2 separate regions of the Homo sapiens genome follow, and region 1 is linked to region 2. Evidence: promoter capture Hi-C in human tissues and cell types (Jung and others, 2019). All regions are on one chromosome and are shown on one strand. Each heading gives the region's core, a stretch centred on a gene start or on the middle of the fragment in contact. The rest is flanking DNA. Distances are from core to core; before and after follow the strand shown.

What was found. Contacts are between HindIII fragments. The study calls those that stand out against the background at their distance.
Region 1: a contact is called between a fragment that was not itself captured here and the fragment with the promoter of SLC22A17 in region 2, in 1 of the 25 tissues and cell types used here (pancreas).

Annotation. Positions count from the first base shown.
Region 1 is chr14:22,969,232-22,975,709 of GRCh38, reverse strand. It overlaps AJUBA (ajuba LIM protein), which reads left to right. Exons shown (of 8, transcript NM_032876.6): 5 at 606-736; 6 at 820-871; 7 at 1,595-1,663; 8 at 2,142-4,533. The coding sequence ends at 2,267. Among named protein-coding and RNA genes, the nearest start is that of AJUBA, 10 kb to the left of the region's middle. RefSeq lists an enhancer at 312-812. The HindIII fragment of the contact is 4,887 bases long and covers 832-5,718 here.
Region 2 is chr14:23,349,718-23,356,140 of GRCh38, reverse strand. It overlaps SLC22A17 (solute carrier family 22 member 17), which reads left to right and starts at 3,254. Exons shown (of 10, transcript NM_016609.7): 1 at 3,254-3,495; 2 at 3,690-4,193; 3 at 4,286-4,389. The coding sequence starts at 3,400. The HindIII fragment of the contact is 16,780 bases long and covers 1-6,423 here.

The DNA.
Region 1 (6,478 bases), core at 2,026-4,525, 380 kb after region 2:
TTGGTGTGTTTTTAGTAGAGACGGGGTTTCACTGTGTTAGCCAGTATGGTCTCGATCTCCTGACCTTGTGATCCGCCCACCTCGGCCTCCCAAAGTGCTGGGATTACAGGCGTAAGCCGCCGCGCCCGGCCAGTCCTGAGTCTTAATCCCCTTTCTGCTACTGGTTAGAATCACTTGGGACTCAGTTTTCTTTTCTGTAAAAACAAAAGATAGGATTAAATCAGTGATTCTCAATCATGGTAGCCTAGCAGATCAGCTGGGAAGAACTAAAAAACAAAACAAAACAAAAAACAGTGTTTGGATCCCATCACCACAGATTGTGATAATAGGCCTGGAGGAGGGCCAAAGCATTGATGTTTTTTAAAAGCTGCCTAGGTGATCCTGATATGCAGCCAGAGTGAAACACTGCTGGCCTGAATGCTCTCTCAGGCACTTTTCAGGGTCTCCGCCTCCATTTTACGACTTCTTCACCGACATTACATAGCATTGTTCTGGGAGTATAGCAGCGGGTTGGATGAGGTTAATGGGAGTAATAAGGAGCATAATGGGCAGCTGGAGAGCTGGGACTGGAGGGAGACTGATTCTCTTGCTACCCCATGAGCCAGATCCTACAAGCAATGGGGAAGTCCTATCATCCAGGCTGTTTCCGATGCATTGTTTGCAACAAGTGCCTGGATGGCATCCCCTTCACAGTGGACTTCTCCAACCAAGTATACTGTGTCACCGACTACCACAAGTGAGTCTGCCCCTTGGGATGCAGTGTGGAACTGGGTCCAGGGATTCCCCAGCCTCAGCTCATCTCTTCCCTCTCTCTTTCAGAAATTATGCTCCTAAGTGTGCAGCCTGTGGCCAACCCATCCTCCCCTCTGAGGTCAGTATGTCTGGGTTCTCCTTCAGGGCAGCCAGTGCCACTGCCTTTGGGGAGGGGATAGGGACATGCTGCCTGGCCTCCTGCCAGAAGTGGTAGTGCCAAGGAATGTACTCTGTGAAGATTCCCGTGTGACTCTGCCTCTTGGGGTCACCACCCTGACCCTAATATCCGGGCCTGGACATGTCTGAAAGCCTAACTGGGCCCAGGCTCCATCTCTTCTATCCCAGTCCAGAGGAGGAGACTTTCTTTGAGGTCGAGGTCACCAGACTGCAGATGTAGGGGCTGGAAAAAGGTGGGAAGAATCCTCAGCACTGGTAGGAAGGGGTCAGAAATGATTTAAGCTGAGTGTAGGGGATGTGCCTATGGAGAGAAACCAAAAGCCAGTGAGGACCAGATCTTATTGGATCCCCTTGTTCCCAGCCTAGCCTACTTTATTTAGGCCTCCTGTCCCCTTCCCTTCCCTTTGCTTCCTGCACAACTGAGAGACGCAGGTAAGGCCAGGGCTGTTGTACAGAGGGAGTGTGCTCCATGGGTGCAGCCCAGTGAAGGAGATGAGAGTTCTGGTAGGATTTGCAGAAGCATCTTAAAACTACAGGTGATTGCAGAGAGACTCTGGGGGCATTTGTATGATCTTCCCATGGGGTGGGAAGGGTTGTATATGAGGGAAAGGTGGAGGTGAGGCAACATGCTGCTCTCATCTCCATGGGGGTCTGCATGTTTCAGGGCTGTGAGGACATCGTGAGGGTGATATCCATGGACCGGGATTATCACTTTGAGTGCTACCACTGTGAGGTGAGTGTTGGGGTTCAGCGGTGCTGGAGAAGAAGTGGAAATGGGGAGAGGGGAGGAGTCAAGTCCTGCAACAACCAGACATCTATGGGAGAGGTGTAGGGCATGGGAAACCAGAAAGATATTGTGACCTATCTTCAGTCTCTTTTTTGTCCTCCAGCCACTCTCTCTGGTCCAAGTAGCTTAGTCCTTTCTGAATCTGACTCTCCCAGAGTCAGGACTTTCTAAGACTAGGGACTCTGGTCAAACTTCTTGAAAGACAGGCTTGTGTCATTATTTCTGCTGCAGCAGTGACACCTGGTGTCCAGCTGAGGTATTAGTATTTTCTCAGATTGCTCTTCCATCCCTTCCATCCTTCCCTTCCCACCCCATCCCTTTCTTCCAGTTATTAGGAGTCAGGTGTTGAGCAGGGCAGACTCCTAAGATACCCTCAGTGTCCAAGGTGCCTAGGCTGAGGTGAACTAGGTGCCTTCTTCCCTAGGACTGCCGGATGCAGCTGAGTGATGAGGAAGGCTGCTGCTGTTTCCCTCTGGATGGGCACTTGCTCTGCCATGGTTGCCACATGCAGCGGCTCAATGCCCGACAACCCCCTGCCAACTATATCTGAGCTGCAATCACTGCTGCTGCTGTCACCCTGCAGACAAACTGCTGTGGCCAGTGGGCCCCTCTGAGGCCAGCCAAGGCAAAGAATGCACTCTGCAGGCCTGGCAGAAGAGTCCTCTGGGGAGGACCCCAAGGGCCGGAGACCCAAAGATCATGATATTCCAAATGGATTGTGGAAGAGAAACCTTATATTTACCAGGGTGGGGGCGACTGGCCTTTTTCCCATGTGTGCAGTCTGAGCTTAGGCACACACAGGAGGGTTCCAGGACTTTCTGAACATCTGATTCTGTATCTTCAGTATATATATTTTGTTTGTTTTAGAGATGGGATCTCACCATGTTGCCCAGGCTAGTCTTGAACTCCTGGGCTCGAATGATCCTCCCACCTTGGCCTCCCAAAGTGCTGGGATTATAGGCGTAAGCCACTGTGTCTGGCCTAGTGTATGATTATGCATGAGTCACGCAATGTTCTGGTCCTGGATTCCAGGAGTAGAGGACCTAGCTTTAAATCAATTAGTTTCAGCTAAACTGACTAGAACCAAATCAAAGTGTAATTCTCCCTCCAGCTCCCCCAAACCCCAGAGTTTTGGGGTTGTGGTTGATGCAGTGTGGGATGTCCCTGAGAGGTAGCAAGTCTAGGGTGGTGAGTTCCTGCTAGGCAACCAAATTTAAGCTCCTCACTTTTTGTGACACATGGTGTCAGATATGGGGTCCCGCACCTATATCTGGATGAAGAGGTAGAAACTCTGGACCTCATTAATGAGTTATTTCTTGGCCTTCTTCTAAGGACTAGGAGAGCTCCTTATCTGTCTGAGAATGGGGACCAGCTCTGAGTGGGGTTGCTGCCTGTATTCCCTGTTTCTCAGGAACTTACATGGGTCTGGGGAGGCTAGGTAGGTGATTGTACGTGGTTGCTCTTCTCCTTGGCTGGGGGAGGTAATGAGCAGATCTCTGTGGGTGTGGAGCTTGTTGGGGGGATGTCTAGGAAGCTTCAGCTTAGCCACATTCCCAAGTTTAGGTGCACTGAGCCATATAGCCCAGTGTATGCATGTGTGGGTGTGTTCATGCACACACACACTCTCTCTCTTGTCTCTCTGTCTCTCTCTCACTCTTTCTTACTCTCTTCTCAGGTCACTTGTACACTTGGTTTCCTAGTAGAAGCTCACTTGCCACCTCTCAGAGGGGTCCCGGATTGCATCCATCACAATCCCAAAACTAGAGTTGGGGGGAACTGGAGGGAGCAAAACACTGATTTGATACTAGTCAGTTTGCTTGAAACTAGTTCACCTAAAGCTAGATCTCTTAAAACCAATTTACTGAAAACTTGTTTGCTTAAAGTTAATGACTTAATGACTAATTTGCCAAAAGCTCAATTCCTATTTTGGTGTGTTTATATCCATTTAGGTGTCCTATTCTTTTTTGTCATGCTTTGGATATTTCAAGGATTTATATCTATTCATCCAAGAGTACTTCTGAGCTATTATCAGCAACATAAATTTATCAAATTTGCAGCACTTTGTAAATGATGAGATTGCTTCCTACCTTTATGGATGTCTTTTTCTATGTTATCTACCATTCAAAAACTTTTTTAAAAAGTTTAAAGTTTCTAGCAATAAATACAATTGGTACAGACATTTTGTGTATCATTTTTTTGTTTCTTAATCCAATATTCCTTTACAAATTAAATGCCTTGAAAAATATAATGGAGTTCAATGTGATTTTGATGCTTTGGTCTAACTTCTACATTCCTACTGTTAAAAAGGCCAGTATATCTTAAACAAATGAATAGGCATGAGGCATATTCAGTTGACTTACAATGAAAAGTTATACAGACAACAGTAATAACTAAAAGGGTGAATCTGCTAAATCCTTTTGAAATGCTGCAGATTTGATAAATATTTATTTTAGACTAATTGGTTTTAGGTGAATTGGTTTTAGGCAAATTAATTTAGTAATCTTTGATCTTTAGTCTTCATTTTCTGTCACTCAGTGAGTTTCTTACTGGAAATGATGACTCCTGACAACAGAATTTCCACATTTGGGGGCTATTCTAAGGTGACTATGCCAGCCAACCTGGGAAATACATAAAAGAGATCTCTGAGTGAGAGGGAAAGAGGTCAGATTTATACAACTGAGCGCCAGAGGGGAAAATGCACCTTGTTGGAGTGAGAAATGTTCTGAAACTGAATTACTTCTTGTACAGCTGAGATAGCTTCTTCTGAACTATTATTAAATAAGTGAATACAAAGGCCCTATGATGGGAAATCCAGACAAGCTTGTGTAACTTTACATCCATCCCCTCAGGGATATTTTTTTTTTTTTTTTTTTTTTTGAGACAGAGTCTCACTCTGTCGCCCAGGCTGGAGTGCAGTGGCGCTATCTCGGCTCACTGCAAGCTCCGCCTCCCGGATTCACACCATTCTCCTGCCTCAGCCTCCCAAGTAGCTGGGACTACAGGCGCCCGCCACCACACCCGGCTAATTTTTGTATTTTTAGTAGAGACGGGGTTTCACTGTGTTAGCCAGGCTGGTCTCGATCTCCTGACCTTGTGATCTGCCTGTCTCGGCCTCCCAAAGTGCTGGGATTACAGGCATGAGCCACTGTGCCCGGCTCTCAGGGTTTTTTTTTTTGACAGAATCTCGCTCTCTTGCCCAGGCTGAAGTGCAATGGTGCAATCTCAGCTCACTGCAACCTCCGTCTCCTGGGTTCAAGTGATTCTCCTGCCTCAGCCTCCTGAGTAGCTGGGATTATAGGCCGGCGCCACCACACCTGGCTAATTTTTGTATTTTTAGTAGAGACAGGGTTTTGCCATGTTGGCCAGGGTGATCTCAAACTCCTGACCTCAGGTAATCCGCCTGCCTTGGCCTCCCAAAGTGCTGGGATTACAGTTGTCAGCCACTGAGCCCTGCCTCTTTTTTTTTTTTTTTTTTTTAAGAGTTGGGAGTCTTGCCCAGGCACAGTGGCTCACCCCTGTAATCCCAGCACTTTGGGAGGCTGAGGTGGGAGGATCATGAGGTCAGGAGATCAAGACCATCCTGGCCAACATGATGAAACCTCGTCTCTACTAACAATAAAAAAATTAGCCAGGCATGGTGGGGTGCACCTGTAGTCCCAGCTACTTGGGAGGCTGAGGCAGGAGAATCGCTTGAACCCGGGAGGCGGAGATTGCAGTTAGCCATCGCGCCACTGCACTCCAGCCTGGGCAACAGAGCAAGACTCCATCTCAAAAAGAAAAAAAAAGGCCAGGTGCGGTGGCTCACACCTGTAATCCCAGTACTTTGGGAGGCCGTGGCAGGCAGATCACGAGGTCAGGAGATTGAGACCATCCTGGCTAACACGGTGAAACCCCGTCTCTACTAAAAGTACAAAAAATTAGCCAGGCGTGGTGGTGGGCTCCTGTAGTCCCAGCTACTCGGGAGGCTGAGGCAGGAGAATGGCGTGAACCCGAGAGGCAGAGGTTGCAGTGAGCTGAGATCATGCCAGTGCACTCCAGCCTCGGCAACAGAGCAAGCCTCCATCTCAAAAAAAAAAAAAAAAAAAAAGAGTTGGGAGTCTCACTCTGTCACCCAGGCTGGAGTGCAGTGGCACAATTATGGCTCACTGCAATCTCTGCCTCCCGGGTTCAAGCGATTCTCCCGCCTCAGCCTCCCAAGTAGCTGGGACTACAGGTGTGCACAACCATGACTGGCTAAGTTTAAAAAATTTTTTTTTAGAGACAGCATCTCACTATGTTGCCCAGGCTGGTCTTGAATTTCTGGCCTCAAGTGATCTCCCACTTTGGCCTCCTAAGTCACTGGGATTACAAGCATGAGCTTCTGTGCCCAGCTCCTGACCCTTTGTTTCTTACTCTGATTTTGGCCTCTTCTGTTCCTGATCCGACTCATTCCTTTCTAGGTCTGTGCTGATTGTCCTAGCCTTGGGGCTCCCCAAGACTCTGTTCTTGCCACTGAGGCTACTTCTTCCTGAGGAAAAATAAATGATAACAGCTGATAAGGGCAGGCCATGAAAAAAGAGCAGTCCTAGCCACCCCAGCACCATCACTGGCAGGCTCCCAGGTGTACCCTGCATCACAAGAGCTTCCCTTCTTCCTATTTGCTGGGAGACTAATCCTCCTCAATATTTCTGTTTAGTATTTACAGTTTTTTAGTATTTACAGTTGATGATGAAAGATTCGTGAGGTGCTGCCAAATATACATCAAAAGGTGGAGCTTGTTTG
Region 2 (6,423 bases), core at 2,005-4,504:
GGCCTTGAAATGTGCCATCCTGGAGAGGCCACCCCAACTAAAGGCCCAGCCTCAGCTTTGCACCACAGGATAGCCCTGGCCAACTGGAGACTGCTGCTGGCCAGTCTAGGCACCCTCTTCCTTAGGTGACACCAAGAGGGTATAGGCCTTTTCACTTGGCTTCCCAGGTAGATCATCTCAGGATGACCTGCTCATCATCCTTCTGGACAAACCATTTTCTGGAGGATCCGCGGTTGCAGATGAATGCAATGTGTTGAAAGGTCAGTCTTCAGGACTTTGGTGAAATTGATAAGACCGTGGCTTAGATAGATCACGCTAGCCATTTACCACAAGGGAAAACATCCAAGCTACAAATCAATTGCTTCAGTTCTGCTTTCCCAAGATATTACCATGGCATGATGACTGGATTGGGGGCATAATCATAGTCTGTTGGCACCCCTGCACATTTGCCTCCTCCCCTTTAGGTTCCTTTCTCATCTCACTCTCAAAGAAAAATGCACTGTCAGATTCTGGGGCCAACAAAATTCACCCCCATGTGTTGAAGTCTATCGTCCATCATCTTCCAAACAGAATTTCAAGAGATTAGCCTGGAATTAGAGGTTTCAATTCAAGTCTCTGATCTGCCATGTAGTTGTGCATCCATGGGTAAATCATGCCAGTCCCTCTGAAGTCCTGGTTTCATCTTCAATATTAGCATGATCATAATGGTCTTACAGGGTTATTGTGAGGACCTAACAAGAAAATGCATGTGAACAGCCCCACAATGTATAAATTAAGTGATTATTATTCCAGGACAGACACAAGGATGCAGACGATAAATCCCCAAGGAATATTGGCTATACAGCACCATAGTAAAACCTGAAGAGATGCTGAAATGAGTTGGGAGAGGGGAAGTGGTAGGAGGCTGCTTGATGCATTAGCAAAGAAATGTTTCGGAGGGATGCAGTGACTCGCACCTGTAATCCCAGCACTTCGGGAGGCTGAGGCCGGAGTACGGCTTGAACTCAGGAGTATGAGGCCAGCCTGGGCCACACAGTGAGACCCTGTCTCAACAAAACATCAAAAAATTAGCCAAGTGTGGTGGCACATGCATGTAGTCCCAGCTATTCAGGAGGCTGAGGTAGGAGGATTGCTTGAGCTGGGGAGGTGGAGACTGCAGTGAGCTGTGATCAAGCCACTGCACTCCATCCTGGGTAAGACAGTGAGACCCTGTCTGAAGAAAAGAGTTTCCCATACGTGGAAAATTTCTGAACAGAGACAAGTTAAAAGTGTGGTTCAGTGGAGAGAAGGGGGAAAGATTTCCCGGCTGACAATGATAGAACACTGCTTTCTAGCCCTTACCTAGGATTAGAGAATAAAGTACCTATCAGGTAACAAATCTCTTAGAGATGTGTGTCTCTACCTTTAATGTATAATACCTATGCCTGGAGATCTGGATAAAATACAGATTATGATTCAAGGGTCTGGGTGAGGCTTGGATTCTGCATTTCTAACAAGCTCCCAGGAATGCTGCTGGTCCATGAACCACACTTTGAGTAGCAATTCTAGAGGTTAGGGAAGACTCCTGTGTAGCAAAGATGTTTAGGCTGAGAGCTGAAGGATGAGAAAAATGTGACTAAGAAGCTTTTTAGGTGCAGGAACCAGCTTGTTCAAAGGCCTCGTGGCGCTGGGAAAACTAGAAGAAGGTCTGTGGCTGGAGTGCAGAGAGTTTGGGGAAAGAAGTGAGATGGAACTACAGACAGCATGTGACCAGGCATGTAGAACCATGTATGAGGTATCTAGATTTTTAATATTCACTTTGACAGTGAGGAGACACCACTGAAGGCTGGTTAGCAGGAAAGATACATGATCAGATCTGTATTTTGAAAAGATCATTCTATCTGACTATAAATGACATATGGGTGATAAGGAGGTATAAACAAAGCGGACGCTGAACACCAGTTAGGAATTAGGGAGCTAAAGTGGTCTTTGCAACAGGTAGCTTGACTAATAATGGTAGAGATGGAGAGATGTGGGATGTCTGAGAATATATAGGAAGTAAAATGGGCAGAATTTTGTAAAGAATTCAACATGGATAAGGAAGAGAAAGCTCTAAAGGCTGTTGCCTGAGCATTTGGCCACAATGCGATGTTGAGGGTGCCATTCGCTGCAGAAAAAAGCAGTGGAAGCCAACCAAGTTATGGGGGAAAAGCAAAAATTTCGTCTTGAACATATTGAGTTTGAGGTCCCTGTGAGTCATCCAAGGTGAAGGTCAAATAAGAGGTGGCTTCATAGGTCTGGAGCTCAGAACAGAGGTGGAAGCTGGAGATGTCAGTCTGGGCGTCAGGTTTGTATTGTTTGTATGGGTGGTGATTGAAGCTGTGGGCATAGGTAAGATCCCAAAGTGGAGACAGTGTGAGATGAGAGGAGGGCCTAGGACTAAGTCTGTGAGGATTCCAGACACTGAACCATGGTGTCTAAATGATACAGACGGGAATGGCCCTAGAAGCCAGCACCACAGCCTCATCACTACCAATACAGACCCCTCCTGCAGTTGCGTCACCCCGCTGGACTTCAATCATTGCCTCAAGAACCGGGAGGATAATGGCCTGCCCATGCTCAGCACCAATGCCATGAGCTGGAAGACGATTTCTGCAATGGAGAAAAGGGGAGCAAGAGAGACTCAGCAGCAAAGGAAGAGAGTGTTTAGAGGAAGAGGGGTCAACAGTGCCAAATGCTGTTGAGAAATGGAGATTCAAACAGGATGGGAGTGATGAAACCCAAGAAAGTGGTCTCCTTGTAGAGGACTGAAGCTAGGGCTGATACAGGGCCAAGACAGTCTTCCATATGCATAAGTTGTACTGTAATAGCCAGTTTACATGTCTGTCTCCCTGGAGTAAAGGTCTCCAAAGTGGAACTTGTCCACCCTGTTATCCTTAAAGTCTAGTGCAAGTCCTGGAACGTAGTGGACACTTAAATTTTACTGATTAGTGAATGGGTGAATGAATGAATGAATGAATGATGGCAAATGATTGGAAGCAGAGGAAGAATCTCTGGCATCTGCCTGGACTAGCTACTATCCTTCAGCTTTTTTTCTTTTTTACCGCAATGGCCCGCAGACCCAGGAAAGAGACGACAGAGCCCCCCTTCCCTCCCTCCCCTGGGCCCTGGCCCCCCTTCCTCTCTCTGACGAAGAGTCTGGACCGAAGGTTCTGCTGACGTGGGAAGGGGAGGAGAGTCTAGAGGAAGGGGAGGGGAAAGCAGCGCAGAGATCGCAGAGACCAAGGAGGCGCCCGCGGCTGCAGAGCTGCAGAGCGGGATCTCTTCGAGCTGTCTGTGTCCGGGCAGCCGGCGCGCAACTGAGCCAGAGGACAGCGCATCCTTTCGGCGCGGGCCGGCAGGGCCCCTGCGGTCGGCAAGCTGGCTCCCCGGGTGGCCACCGGGACCCCCGAGCCCAATGGCGGGGGCGGCGGCAAAATCGACAACACTGTAGAGATCACCCCCACCTCCAACGGAGTAAGTGCCCGAGCCCCAGGTGGCGACGCCATCCTCTCCCAGCACCCCCGCCCCCGCGGAGCGTCTGGCATTTTCCTCCTGCGCATCCCTCGCCCCTGACTGCCTTCCTAGCCCTCCCTCCCACCTGCCCCCTGCCCTTGCTCTGCGGTTTCCTCCGCTTCACCCTTCTCCTGCCACCCCCTGCCCCCCAACAGCAGGTCGGGACCCTCGGAGATGCGGTGCCCACGGAGCAGCTGCAGGGTGAGCGGGAGCGCGAGCGGGAGGGGGAGGGAGACGCGGGCGGCGACGGACTGGGCAGCAGCCTGTCGCTGGCCGTGCCCCCAGGCCCCCTCAGCTTTGAGGCGCTGCTCGCCCAGGTGGGGGCGCTGGGCGGCGGCCAGCAGCTGCAGCTCGGCCTCTGCTGCCTGCCGGTGCTCTTCGTGGCTCTGGGCATGGCCTCGGACCCCATCTTCACGCTGGCGCCCCCGCTGCATTGCCACTACGGGGCCTTCCCCCCTAATGCCTCTGGCTGGGAGCAGCCTCCCAATGCCAGCGGCGTCAGCGTCGCCAGCGCTGCCCTAGCAGCCAGCGCCGCCAGCCGTGTCGCCACCAGTACCGACCCCTCGTGCAGCGGCTTCGCCCCGCCGGACTTCAACCATTGCCTCAAGGATTGGGACTATAATGGCCTTCCTGTGCTCACCACCAACGCCATCGGCCAGGTGAGGCGGCCAGGCGGGCCGCGGGTCTGGGGGCGGGCAGAGAGCGGCGAGGGCGGGGCCTCACGCCCGCTGCACCCTTCTCACATCCCCAGTGGGATCTGGTGTGTGACCTGGGCTGGCAGGTGATCCTGGAGCAGATCCTCTTCATCTTGGGCTTTGCCTCCGGCTACCTGTTCCTGGGTTACCCCGCAGACAGGTGAGGGCTGTCGTGGGGGCAGGGCTGGTAGAAAGGAGGGGGTGCTAGGGAAGCTAACCCAAGCAGCGGGCGTTTACAGGAGGTCGAAGACGATTCGCTGGACTCTGCAGTCTTCTCTGGACTTCTATTCAATGGTCTATCCATGTCTCAACTTCACTCTCCATCAAGAAATACCCCTTCCCTACCTCTTCCGCGCAAGGGAATGACTCGACCTCTATGGACTATTAGTCCCATTCCCACTAATTAGTGGCCCCCTATCCGTGAATCAATGGCCTCATCTCCAAAGAGAATAGTCTCATCCCCACTAACAGCCCACATGGACTGTTCGCTCCATCTCAGTGACCTCATTCCTGAAGATCAATATGTTAATTCCTAAACACCAACAGCTCCATTCCCACTGATCAATAGTTCAACTTCACAAACAAATTACCCCATTTCTGACCAGCGACCCCTCCCCTACAAGTCAACTAACTATCTCCAAAGACAATATCCTCAGACCCAGTAACCCACAGTCCCATGCCTGCCACCAAATGACCCAACGCTCTGTAGGGGAATAGCCCATAGATTAGCAGTCATACCCTCATGGATCCTCAGGGCTTTGAGATCCTCTCACCGAAATCCCCGTTTCCATGAGTCGGTAGCTTCACCTCTAGAGATCAACAACCCAATCCCAGCAACCAATAACTCTTCCCACAGATCAAAAATCTCATCTCTGATTCTGGTCACCTTCACCACTGACCAGATGCTCTCACTGCACTAAACTTCCGATTAGACTCAGCCCCATTGATCCACAGTTCCATCCAAGTGGATTAATAACTCAACTTCTGTGGATCAAAGCCATCCCAACATTCAATAGTCCAGTTCCTTAAAATCAATACCCATCCTCACTGCCCAATAGTCACACACCTCTGTGGGCCAATGATCCGAAACCCACAGGTCAATAGCCCATCCCTATGCATCAGTGGCCTCATTGCCACAGACCAGTAGCCTCATTCCTATGGAACCATGGTTTCATCCCCAAAGATCAATAATTTGGTCTTCTAAAATCTGTAGCCTTCAGCACATTAACCAATAAGCCCATCCTCATGGAAAAATGCCCCACCCCATTAGATCAATAGCCTAACTCCCAGGGATTGGTGCCCCTTTTGCAATGACCAGAGGCTCCCTATCTTCATCTCCATAGATCAATGGTCTTATCCCCAAAGATCAATAGCCCAGCCTCCAAGAATCAGTAACCATGTCTTCACTAACTCATAGTTAGTGACCATAATCACTTACCAATAGTCTCATCTCCCCTGGTCTGTGACCTTATCCTTACTGATTATTCCCATGGATTAATAGATTCATCCCACTGATCAATAGTCCTACCTTATGGATTAATACACCCATGTCTATGTCCCCACTGATCTTTCTTTTTTCTTTCTTTTTTTTCTTTTTTCTTTCTTTTTGAGATGGAGTCTCGCTCTGTTGCCCAGGCTGGAGTGCAGTGGCATAATCTCAGCTCACTGCAACCTCTGCCTCCCAGGTTCAAGCGATTCTCCTGCCTCAGCCTCCCGAGTAGCTGAGACTACAGGCACCTGCCACCACACCTGGCTAATTTTTGTATTTTTAGTAAGGATGGGGTTTCACCATATTTGTCAGGCTGGTCTTGAACTCCTGACCTCGTGATCTGCCAGCCTCGGCCTCCCAAAGTGCTGGGATTACAGGTGTGAGCCACTGCGCCCAGCCTGACCATTCTTAATGTATTAATAGACCAATGTCCCACCTCCATGGAACAATGGCCTCATCTCCAAAAATCAATTACTCAGTCCCCTAATATCATTGGCTTTACCTTCACTGACCAGTAGTATCCTCATGCACAAGTGGCCAATGGCCTCCCCTCCACAGGTTAATAGTTCCAACTCCGTATATCAATGAACCCCCCTCCCACATCTCCTCTGAACAGTCTGAGCAAGATAAGCTCCAGGCCCACTGACCATTAGCTCTGTTCCTAAGGATGAATGGTCCCAAATCCCCTAAGCAATATCCCATCCC